Linked DNA regions of Homo sapiens: region 2 is linked to region 1. Evidence: promoter capture Hi-C in 16 types of primary human blood cells and fetal thymus (Javierre and others, 2016). All regions are on one chromosome and are shown on one strand. The core of a region is centred on a gene start or on the middle of the fragment in contact, and the rest is flanking DNA. Distances in the headings are between cores, read along the strand shown. Region 1 holds the start of SKIL (SKI like proto-oncogene). Region 2 holds the start of TNIK (TRAF2 and NCK interacting kinase).

Region 1 (5,251 bases), core at 11-2,510:
TCTGCAGAGTTCAATATGCTAATCGGCTACCCTGGGAACCAGGAAGACCACCCTACACGCCTCAGAGGGTCACAGCCGGAAAGCTCTTGAGTCCTATCTTCCCTACCTCGTCTCGTCCCTCTCCAAAAAAACACACACACAAAAAAACACCCTCAGTAAACACTGTAAAAACCTTTAATTTATAGCTCCCTTCTGGAACCGAGAGAGCAGCCTGGTGGGGTGGAGGCAGGAGGCTGGGGAGTAGGGACAGAAATGTTTGCTCTCGGTTTTGCCGGAACTTTGGCCACCCCTCCCGCCCGGCCCGATGGCGGATGGAGGTCAGCCAGGGGAAGGCGTCTGGGTGGAGGCCGCCCGGGCGAGGCCGGGGCCGCCGGGGCGGGGCGGAGCGCCGGCAGCTGGCTGGGCGGCCCTCGGGCAGGAGGCCCCGCGGGGGCGAGGGGCAGCCCAGGAGGGAGGTCCCGCGGGGGCGGGGAGCAGAGCCGGCCCCGGGGGCCCTGCAGGGCGGCCGCCGCCCGGCTGCCTCCGGGGCGGGGCGGCCCAGCTGCGGCCCCGCAGGGGGAGGGTCGCCCGTGCCTGACCTCGGGCGGCGGCACTCTGCCGGGCGGGCACTGCCTCCGCCCTGCCGGCTGCTGGGGTCGCGCACAGTGCACCGCGCGGCTGCCCTGCCCCCTCTTCCCCGCTGCGCGGCGTCCGAGCGGCCAGGGCGCCCCCGCGTCTGGCCCATCACCACAGAGCGGCGGGTGGGGCGGGGGCGGGGCGGTGGCCCCAGACAGCCGGCTGGGCGACTAGAGGAAGGAAGGAGGGAGGGCGGCGGTGAGGGTGGGGTGGGGAGGGAACATCCTGTCTGCGCCGGGTGCACCGCAGACAGCGCCGCGCGCCAGCTTCCCAGACGGCGCGCGGGGCCAGAAGCGCCGGGCGCGCGCCTGGGGGGAGGGGCACGCGCGCGAGACGACGGGGCCAGGGGGGCGCTCTGAGGAGCCACAATAGGCCAGACGGCACGCGCGTCCACGAGGGGGCCGGGAGCCGCGAAGTGGCGGCGGCGGCGACGACGCCGGCGGGCCCGCGCGCGCGGCGCCGCCGCTGGCTCCGTTCCCTTCCCCTCCCCCTCCCCGCCGCCCTCGCTCTCCCCCGGGCGGCCGGAGACGGCGGCGGCGTCTGCGGGAAGCTGTGTGTCTCCGCAGTGACGTGGGCGGGCCGAGGACTCGGTGACGTCAGAGGGCTGTGTGTAGCGATGTGTGTGGGGTTCGGAGCCGCGCCGGCACAGCCGAAGGGAGCGGGCGAGCGGCGACGGCGGCGGCGGCGGGCACAGGTGCGGCTCCGGCTTACGGCGGCGACGCGGCGGAGGCGGCGGGAGGCCAGAGGCGCTCACCCTCCTAGGAGCCCGACGGCGGCGACAGGGGCGGTGGGGAATTCACAAAGCTCGTCGAGCTTACCCGGGCACCGAGGCCCGAGTAGGGGGTTTGGATGCGCGGGTCCCGGGTGGGGTCGGGGCCAGAGGGGGTCGCTAGGCGGGTGTTCCACGGCTGATCACGCTTCGTTGGCCCCAGGCGGTGGGCGCCGGCAGGGCAGGGCGCTGTAGTTGACGGGAGCCGCGGGGACCCCGGAGACCCGGACGCCCGTCACCGCCCCCCTCCCCCAGTCCAGCAGCGCTCCGCGGGGATGCCCTGGTCTCGACCCGGTCCGTCAGCCCCCGGCGGCGCAGGGATCCGCGCCCGGCGCCTAAACTGCCCTGGTGTCCTCTTCGTTCTGGCCCGGGGCTGGCGCGGGGAGGTGCAGCATTAGGGGCGCTGAGGTGACACCCGAGAACTTCCCAGGGAGAGGGTGCGCGGGGGGGTGGATTTCCACAGTCCTTCCCGCGGCCCCCGCGGGGGGGCGGTGTTGGGAGGGCACTTGGGGTTATCCCAGGCTCGCCGGTGGGGGTGGGGGGACTCCTCCCTTTACTTCCCTCCACCCCCTTGCACACCCACCCCCAGGCTTCCCGTGTCCCTTGTTCTCCCTCTCTCCGGGTTAGAGATAGGTGGGTGGCTTTGAGTGGGCGGAGGACTTCAGGGTTTTAGGGGCTCCCCCATTCTAGGTCATGCCTCTTGCTCTCTTCCTTGGCCTGTGTTGAGTAAGGTGTGTTCCTGTGGTGGACGAAAGTCTGTACGATGGTTGGTGGCATTGGTCCTTAATCCTTTGGGTCTGTTTTAAGGTAAAGTGCTGAGAGTTTGGGAAGCAAAAATTTCTATTTATTGGATTTCTTTTGGCTTTTCTCTCAAGAAGGAAGTGGAAAAAGAGTCTTTTCTTTTTCCCTCTTCCTCCATTTGCATTCTTTGTGAGGTTTGTCTGCCTTGTGCTTTTTGTCCCGGATTAGTCTTGTTGAAGGATGGAGATTCCCAGGCGTGGAGTCTATAGCTTTTGGCTTCCATTAAGTAAAATCGCTAACCTTTTTTTAAGAGAAAGTTAATTTTTGCCTGCAGTCATTCCAGAAAAATAGTGTACACGGACTAGCTGAATTAATCCACTTAAAATTGTAACTTAGTTACATATGGTAGATATGTTAACTCCTATCTGATTTTTTTGGATGAAACTGTTGTTTTGTTTTTAAATAGGAGATGAAGTAATGGATTTTTTTCCCTCCCTTAAAATGGCATAGCTGAGAAAGCCCCGGTACTACTAATTGAGATGATCTGCTTAAGAGTCTTCATATTCTGAACTCGAAAGGCCTTTTATGTTATATTATTGCTCGCTTTACGCAACTCCAAATTGCTTTCCTATTTAAATGAATGTTCTTCTAGTAAACTGGTGTTAGATTTAAAGAAATCACTCAAGCTTCACCTTGGTAAACTGAACTCAGTTTAAGATTAAGAAACTGATTTCGGCCGGGTGCGGTGGCTCACGCCTGTAATTCCAGCACTTTGGGAGGCCCGGGCGGGCGGATCACCTGAGGTCAGGAGTTCAAGACCAGCCTGACTAATATGGTGAAACCCCGTTTCTACTAAAAATACAAAAAAATTAGCCGGGTGTCGTGGCTTGTGCCTGTAGTCCCAGCTACTCCGGAGTCTGAGACAGGAAAATTGCTTGAACCCGGGAGGCGGAGGTTGCAGTATGCCGAGATCGCTGCACTTCAGCCTGGGCGACAGAGCGAGACTCCGTAAAAAAAAGAAAAAAAAAAAAATAAAAGAAACTGGTTTCAAATTGGCCCTTTGGCCTCTGGAGCAAATTCAAATGTAACTCTTCCCCAACCCCCCTTCTCTTCTTCCAGATTAATTAAAAGAAGAATGAACTATAATCCTTGAAGATAACTGGGCAATTTTTTAAGTCGGAGGCTGTTCTTACTGGTGTGAGGATTTACACACGTCTTCAGTTTTTCAGCACAGACCAGCAGACCATCATTTTTAGAGGAAATACTCCCTCTGCCCTCCTTTTTGGTTTCCTTGGTGGTAAAGATTAAATTTGGTTGCATCATTTTGACTTGTGTTTGAGTCTAGATTTTATGGCACAAGGAATGGCATAAACTTTTCATGTGTTTTGGTTAAAACAAACCAGACCATTGCATTGACCCTGGACATCTTTAATTGAGAAATTGGTAACTTTATTTTAATATGTATATCTGAAGAATTCAAGAAAACAAAGGCATCCTCAGAGGTGTGCCTCTTTTCTTTATTATTAGAGGCAAAACGAACAATTTTATAGGATTTGTAGTGAAATTATACCAGATTATAAGGAGAACCAAAACTAAGTCGCAAAATTTATTAATTTAAGGGGCTCTCGCTTTGAAAGTTTGAGAGTAAGTTACGATAGGCATTTGTATCCATTCATTACTTTCCTCTTTTCAAATAAGCAACTAAATAGAAATGCTAATCTCAGACTTAATTATTTAACAGAAGAGTGTACCATGGAAAACCTCCAGACAAATTTCTCCTTGGTTCAGGGCTCAACTAAAAAACTGAATGGGATGGGAGATGATGGCAGCCCCCCAGCGAAAAAAATGATAACGGACATTCATGCAAATGGAAAAACGATAAACAAGGTGCCAACAGTTAAGAAGGAACACTTGGATGACTATGGAGAAGCACCAGTGGAAACTGATGGAGAGCATGTTAAGCGAACCTGTACTTCTGTTCCTGAAACTTTGCATTTAAATCCCAGTTTGAAACACACATTGGCACAATTCCATTTAAGTAGTCAGAGCTCGCTGGGTGGACCAGCAGCATTTTCTGCTCGGCATTCCCAAGAAAGCATGTCGCCTACTGTATTTCTGCCTCTTCCATCACCTCAGGTTCTTCCTGGCCCATTGCTCATCCCTTCAGATAGCTCCACAGAACTCACTCAGACTGTGTTGGAAGGGGAATCTATTTCTTGTTTTCAAGTTGGAGGAGAAAAGAGACTCTGTTTGCCCCAAGTCTTAAATTCTGTTCTCCGAGAATTTACACTCCAGCAAATAAATACAGTGTGTGATGAACTGTACATATATTGTTCAAGGTGTACTTCAGACCAGCTTCATATCTTAAAGGTACTGGGCATACTTCCATTCAATGCCCCATCCTGTGGGCTGATTACATTAACTGATGCACAAAGATTATGTAATGCTTTATTGCGGCCACGAACTTTTCCTCAAAATGGTAGCGTACTTCCTGCTAAAAGCTCATTGGCCCAGTTAAAGGAAACTGGCAGTGCCTTTGAAGTGGAGCATGAATGCCTAGGCAAATGTCAGGGTTTATTTGCACCCCAGTTTTATGTTCAGCCTGATGCTCCGTGTATTCAATGTCTGGAGTGTTGTGGAATGTTTGCACCCCAGACGTTTGTGATGCATTCTCACAGATCACCTGACAAAAGAACTTGCCACTGGGGCTTTGAATCAGCTAAATGGCATTGCTATCTTCATGTGAACCAAAAATACTTAGGAACACCTGAAGAAAAGAAACTGAAGATAATTTTAGAAGAAATGAAGGAGAAGTTTAGCATGAGAAGTGGAAAGAGAAATCAATCCAAGGCAAGTTTTTTATATCAATTTTTAATAATGGTAATGGTTTACTTTGAAATGAAAATTCTATGTTTAGTGTGTAACTTAACCTGTATGTTGAACATTGCTCATGCAACAACAACAAAATACCGATTGATATATTTGTATTGCAGTTTTTAGGCCATAAAGTGCTTTGCAGTATGTTTCCTCATTTGACTTTCCAAACATCCTGTGAGAGAAGTAAGACTATTATTCCGTTTTACAGATAAAGTGAATGAAGCTCAGAGAGATAAAATGACTTTCCCA
Region 2 (5,686 bases), core at 501-3,000, 1.1 Mb after region 1:
GGCTGGACAAGATGAATTCCAAAGGTGGCCTAGAGCTCCATGGTTTCATGTATCACAAGCTTACTTGCATGAAGTAGTTTCGCCATTCTCAATAAATAAAATTCCCTGACCCTGGTGAAATTATTCCTTTCTGCTATTCTTTTGTACTCAGGCAGAAAATGTATTATTGATTTCTGATTCCACCACAGAAAGTGTGACTTAGAGAAAAGAGCACTGAATGAGGAGTCAGGAAATCTAGATTATTTCCTCAAACCACGCTCCTCGCTGTCCCCTCCCCTTGTTACTGTGTGACCTTGAACAACTTACTTCACGCCTCTGGGCTTCAGTTTCCCAAGTGTTCAATGAAAGGAGTGGCTGAGTGTTCTACAATTCTCTTTCCAGCTCTGAATCTATAAAACAATTCCAGCCCATCCCTCAAGATTTAGTTTATCTCTGAGCTCTAAAAATCAGGGCTAAAACTGGATTCAAAGTACCTATTTTCTAACCAAAGAAGATCCTGCTTCACTCACTTTTAAACCATGCAAATCTTGCATAATTTAAATGATCAGTGCTGTCATTGGTTGCTCTGGTTTAAATTATGCATTGTTGCTATTTGGGGAAAATTTAGACTGGGTCCGGTCTGGAATCACTGGCTGAGAACAATAAGCCCCCAAAGTGAGAAGGATAAAGGCCTCTCTAGACAGGATCTGCTTTTAATGCTTTGAGCCCAGGGTTTACAAAAAGAGCATTGACTGTGTACATTAAAGAGCCACCGAAACAGCGAGGGACTGGTAAGTCTGCAGCAAATTCTCCCAGAAGCCACTGACCTTGGCTGCATTTCAGGGGTCAGGCATTCCCCAGGAGGGGCTCAGCAGGCAGACTTTACCAAGGGCTTAGGAACAAATGAGACATCTCATCTAGATGAGGCCACCTCTCCAAATGTGGCAAGGTGGAGATGATCTGCCCTCTGATTTGTGGAGATTACCTATGTGGCCTTTGGACCCACTCCAGCAGACACACCTCACCCACAAGACTGGTCAAAGACCCTGGCCCTCCAGGATATAACTGTCTCCACATCTGCATCTAAGTCTTCTAGCCAGCAGTTCCTGGTCCCCAAGCTAGCTGTTGCCCTCTCTGTTTCCACACCTCCCAGCAGGCAGAAAAACAGAAGCAGAGCCCTAAGCTGATAGCCCAGGCCACAAAGAGCAATTTCAGTGAATTGTGCAAAGATATATTTTCAAAATACAGATCACAAGAAAGCACATCCCAAGTGTGAACCGCAGTCGTCCGCCCAGTGGGCCCTCACCGGTTGCTCCCCTGCCTGCAGGCTCCGTGCTTGGTATCTCAGAAAACCTTCCCGAGGAAAAAGCCCATAAGGGACAAGTCCCGGCCCAACTTAAAATCACATCAGACTGCTTTCCAGTAGAGGAGCAAGGTCGAGATTCCGGCCCAGGGAAATCACCGCAAGCCCTGCGCATTGTTCAGACCCCTTCCCCCTTTGCCACTTCCCGCCCCCCACCCCGACCTCCGACCGATTCGCAGCACCCCACCCCCAGTCGGGGCCATCCATCCACCTGATTAACTCGCCGGCAGCAACTCCCAGCGTAGAAAGTAGGGCAAATGAACACACACAGTCGGTAAAGCAGGAAGCCACAGACCTGGCCAATGCACCCACCCTGTTACCAACCCCACCCCGCTGCGCAGGGGGCAGCCGGTTCTTGATGTGGCATTTCCACTCCAGGGAAATAGACAGCTTCCTGTAATAATGCATGAATGAGCTTTGGCTGCCCAACTATCAGAACAGCCCATTTCAAACGGCATCTCTGTTTCTTCTCAACTCCTTACTTGCCTTGCTGAAACCTCATCTCTTAGCCCAACAGATTAAGACGAAGAGAGAAAGACTTATTCAAAGAGATGTGGAGGAAAAGGTTTAATTAAGGAGACCAAAGAGAAAGTACCACTTTGATCACAAAGGTAGCACTTTAATATATCAGTGCAGATAGCGGCAATGTCAGAAGTACTAGGAATCCAGGTAAATGGCCCCAAGATTCAGCATCAATCTAACAATGTATTCCTCAGGAGGGCGTGTGAACTTCCATGCTTCATCCATCCTGGTGTCTCCCTGTAGAGAGCCACCATGAATTCCTTCTCATCCACCCTCCATACATCAAGTATATGCACTCGCTTTCTTTTTAATTTTATTTTTGGTTCGGGAGAGGAAGAAGCAGTCCTTAAATTGGTGTCCAATCCTTCTCAGACACCCGCTGCTGCCACCATCCCCACCCCTCACCCCCTTCCAGGCAGGCAGCATCTAATTAAAATGGCAAGAAAGCTCTGCCCCCTTCCCCAAAGGAGTGTGTTGGGATCGGGAGTTGGGGGTGGGGAAGCGTCGAAGCAGCACTTGGATTCCTGGTATTCTGATCTCAAAACAACAGCAAAATGGATTCTATATCAGTGATGTCTTAGTCAATACAATGAAACGGCGTCTGAGGTAATTCACGTGAAGGTAAACGCAAACCAGTGGGGCTGGGGGGAGGGAGGTGCTCTACAAAGGACTGGCCACAGACACGGGGAAAACACACACAGACACACACACACACACACTCGCACACACTCCAGGGAGTTCCGGTCTGATTGAGGAAAAGCAGAAAACACATCCCTTTCACCTGCTTAAGTTCAGCCATAAAACTGAAACGTTACAGCCACAAAGTCAGAAAGAACAGGCAGGGCTGAGTTAAAGCCATAAATAAAGGTGAGTGGCAGACTGGCATTTAAGGGAGCGCTGAGAGGGCGCCCGGGCGCGGGAGGTAGAAAAGGGGGAGGGGGAGGCAGTTGCCATCTACAAGACCAGCATAGCAATAACTGCCCCCTTGGAGCGGCAGGTTCGGCTTCGCGGGGACAGCCAGCCTCACAATGTCATCTTGCAGGTAGCTGGAAAACGTGAGGGGCCAGTGCCTTTATTCACGCTGGCATTCTTTTTGCAGAAGGGACAGTCGGGTCTCGCGCCTTGGCACCAGACAACTGCCCGGGGCGTGTACACACACACACACACACACACACACACGCACACACGCCTTTCATTTTAATGCTCTTACACCGGTATAAGATGAAACTGGCATAAGCTCTACGAGCCCTCGGGAGAGCCTAAGCCACGGCCAGAGGAAGACACGTACCGCACAGCCCCTGCCGTAGGGGCTCAGCCAGGAGCACCTCAGCAACCCCGAATCAAAACGGGAATCCAGGTTCCCTCCCCGACGCATTCTCCCGCTGCTGTCCCCCTGCCCCAGCCCCAGCCCCCAGTCCACGCACCGAGCCCATTCACCCTAACCCAAACCACTGGAAAGAAACCAGAAAACGTCCTGCTCACCCTCAGAGCCGAGAGATCTATTTCATCCAGGCTTCGAGCCGGGGAGTCGCTCGCCATGTCTACTTCTTCGCTGGAGAAATGGACCAAAACCACCCCGAAGCTTTTCCCTTGGAAATTCCACCTTGGTCTATTTCACTCGCGTCCTCATGCGGGTGTCGCGCCAGAGGCCCCGGGCCCAGCCTCCCCCGCCCACCCCAGCCCCACAGCGCCGGATCCCGATCCTCCGCGCGTCGGTCCGCCGGGTCCGGGAGCCCAGCCTGCGCGGATCTCCAAGCCCCGAGCAGCGGTGCGTGTGGGCTGAGCGCCCCGATCGGCTAAGGGCGCTGGGGCTGCGTGGGTGTATTTAAATGGGACATGCTTCTTTGCTTGTGCGTGGATGGCGGCTGCATTGGCTGTTATAATGAGACACATCAACTCCTCCACTCAGCAGGGGGAGGGTGGGGGTGGAGAACCACGCAGAACTGTCTATCACCGCTTCCTGGGAGGAGTGAAGGGGGAGTGGGGAGGCGGAGGAGGCGTGGTCTTGGACTGGGGAGAGGCCGCGCTTCCTGACCCGGTCCCTCTGCACCAGCGTGGAGGGGGGAGGGGCGCGCACCCTTTCCGCCCAGGCTTTTGCGGGCTCCTCGGGCCGAACCCGAAGGGGCTGTTCCTGAACCTTGACTTGTTATCATAGGGACCCAAGCTCTATTTTTGTGTGGCCAATTCGTGCACTGCAGCAAAATGGCCCTTCAGTCGCGTCTTGGGGTTTCTCCTCGGTTCAAATGCTCTCGCGCTGAGAAAAAGCCGGAGGAAAAAAAAGCGACACCCTCCCTCCCCCATTAATTATTTGTGGGGCCGGAGTAACGCGGGCTGGTGCAACCGGTGCATATAAGGACTTGTGTGCAAGGAAGGGGATCCGCCTCCAGGCGCGGAAAGAGTAGGGAAGAAGCGCACACGCACAGTGCACCCAGCTGGGCGCTTCGGCAGTTTGCAGCTGCGGCGGGGTCGGGTCCACCCGCGGTCCCCGGAATGCCGGACGGCTGATCCCGGGTGCTGGTCACTCGCCGATTCGGGGCTGGGAAGGTTTGCCAGAAGCGGGAAAGATGGGAGATCTGAGCGCTCTCTTGGCATCGCCACACCCAGGACTTGCTCGTGCCGCAATTCCCCACGGAAACAACCGAGTTGAAACGAGAAGCTTGCTCTCTGGGTGCAGTAGCTAGAAGGCTTCAGGTAACTCCAAAGCCAACACTGGGTGAGGCAACACACGCCGCCTCAGGACTCAGCATTTCTTTCAGGCTGCGTTTTCGTGGCAGACCTACCCAGATTGATGGAGAAAGTTTGGCTGGCGGATAAGAAGTAACGCGGAAGATGTGTACGTGAGAGCGATTTCACTTCACTCACTTTCTCATTTAAAGGTTGGATGTTTTACAGTGGTATACATGATTCTCCTTCTGTAATCAAGAGTGGGAAGTCGCTTCCCCCAATCCCCGCGCAGCCCTTCTTCTCCCGCCTTAGCCATGCAAAATACCTAGAAAGAAAACACTAAAACTGAACTTTTTTCCAAATACAGCAGTAGCTTTGAAAGCATTCTTTGCTCCTCTGTTAACAGCAGAATGTAATTCTGACCACTGCACTGATGGTTTCTTAATCATGCAGTATGAAGATCAGCTTCAAAATAAGTCTTATGAATGAATGAATGAAAGCCAGTGCAGTTAGTTCATCATGACTGCAGACATTAGAGGACTTTGAAACAACCTTTGGTGTACATTGTACTGTTTTTGTTACTGATATTGTATGTATTCATATGCATTGTGGATCATGCACCATGAAACTTGAAAATTGTTCCAACATCTCAATGGCCACAACAGTTTGGTAGCTTTTGCCTGTAAACGTTGTATGTAAACATTTGAACGTGTTATACTAAATTACTAAACTCATTTTTTACTAAAATCATCTGGTTCGACATAGTAAGTAACGTGCAGTAAGCCACCACGTCGAAATGAAAAAAAAAAAACAGATTATTTCCCATCATTGTCTTTGTTTTTTTCTCTTCTGTGTTCCTGTTTTTTTACCGTTCATCTAGACAACAGGTTAATGTATTGTCTCAGGGTTGAAAGAAGATAATTTAAGATCAAGTATTAAGATCTATAAACAACTATTTTTTTAAAACTGCAAACATAAGGAAATATGAGTTAAATATTTTTTCCATGGAAAGCCTTCGTTTTATACTCATGATTATATTTGAAACATCACAAACAGATCAACTTTTTTGACATTAGTGAGCTGTTTGGGCCACGAGGGTGCCAAGTTGGCATTCAGATTTAGTTTAGTTTTAGATGAGAAAGTTATAGATGCAGTATG

Evidence for each region. Contacts are between HindIII fragments. The CHiCAGO score rates a contact against its expected background, and 5 or more counts as called.
Region 2: a fragment that was not itself captured here is called in contact with the fragment with the promoter of SKIL in region 1 in 1 of 17 cell types (fetal thymus); the score reaches 5.7 in fetal thymus.

Annotation. Positions count from the first base shown.
Region 1 is chr3:170,356,455-170,361,705 of GRCh38, forward strand. It overlaps SKIL (SKI like proto-oncogene), which reads left to right and starts at 1,261. Exons shown (of 7, transcript NM_005414.5): 1 at 1,261-1,309; 2 at 3,245-4,975. The coding sequence starts at 3,878. RefSeq lists silencers at 214-1,113, 1,274-1,503, 1,554-1,683, 1,774-1,843. The HindIII fragment of the contact is 9,771 bases long and covers 1-2,809 here.
Region 2 is chr3:171,456,661-171,462,346 of GRCh38, forward strand. It overlaps TNIK (TRAF2 and NCK interacting kinase), which reads right to left and starts at 3,745. Exons shown (of 33, transcript NM_015028.4): 1 at 3,347-3,745. The coding sequence starts at 3,403. It overlaps LOC124906303 (a long non-coding RNA gene), which reads right to left and starts at 1,511. Exons shown (of 2, transcript XR_007096168.1): 1 at 1,286-1,511. It overlaps LOC102724479 (a long non-coding RNA gene), which reads left to right and starts at 2,558. Exons shown (of 3, transcript NR_189068.1): 1 at 2,558-2,731. RefSeq lists a silencer at 3,375-3,434 and an enhancer at 4,446-4,946. The HindIII fragment of the contact is 3,387 bases long and covers 58-3,444 here.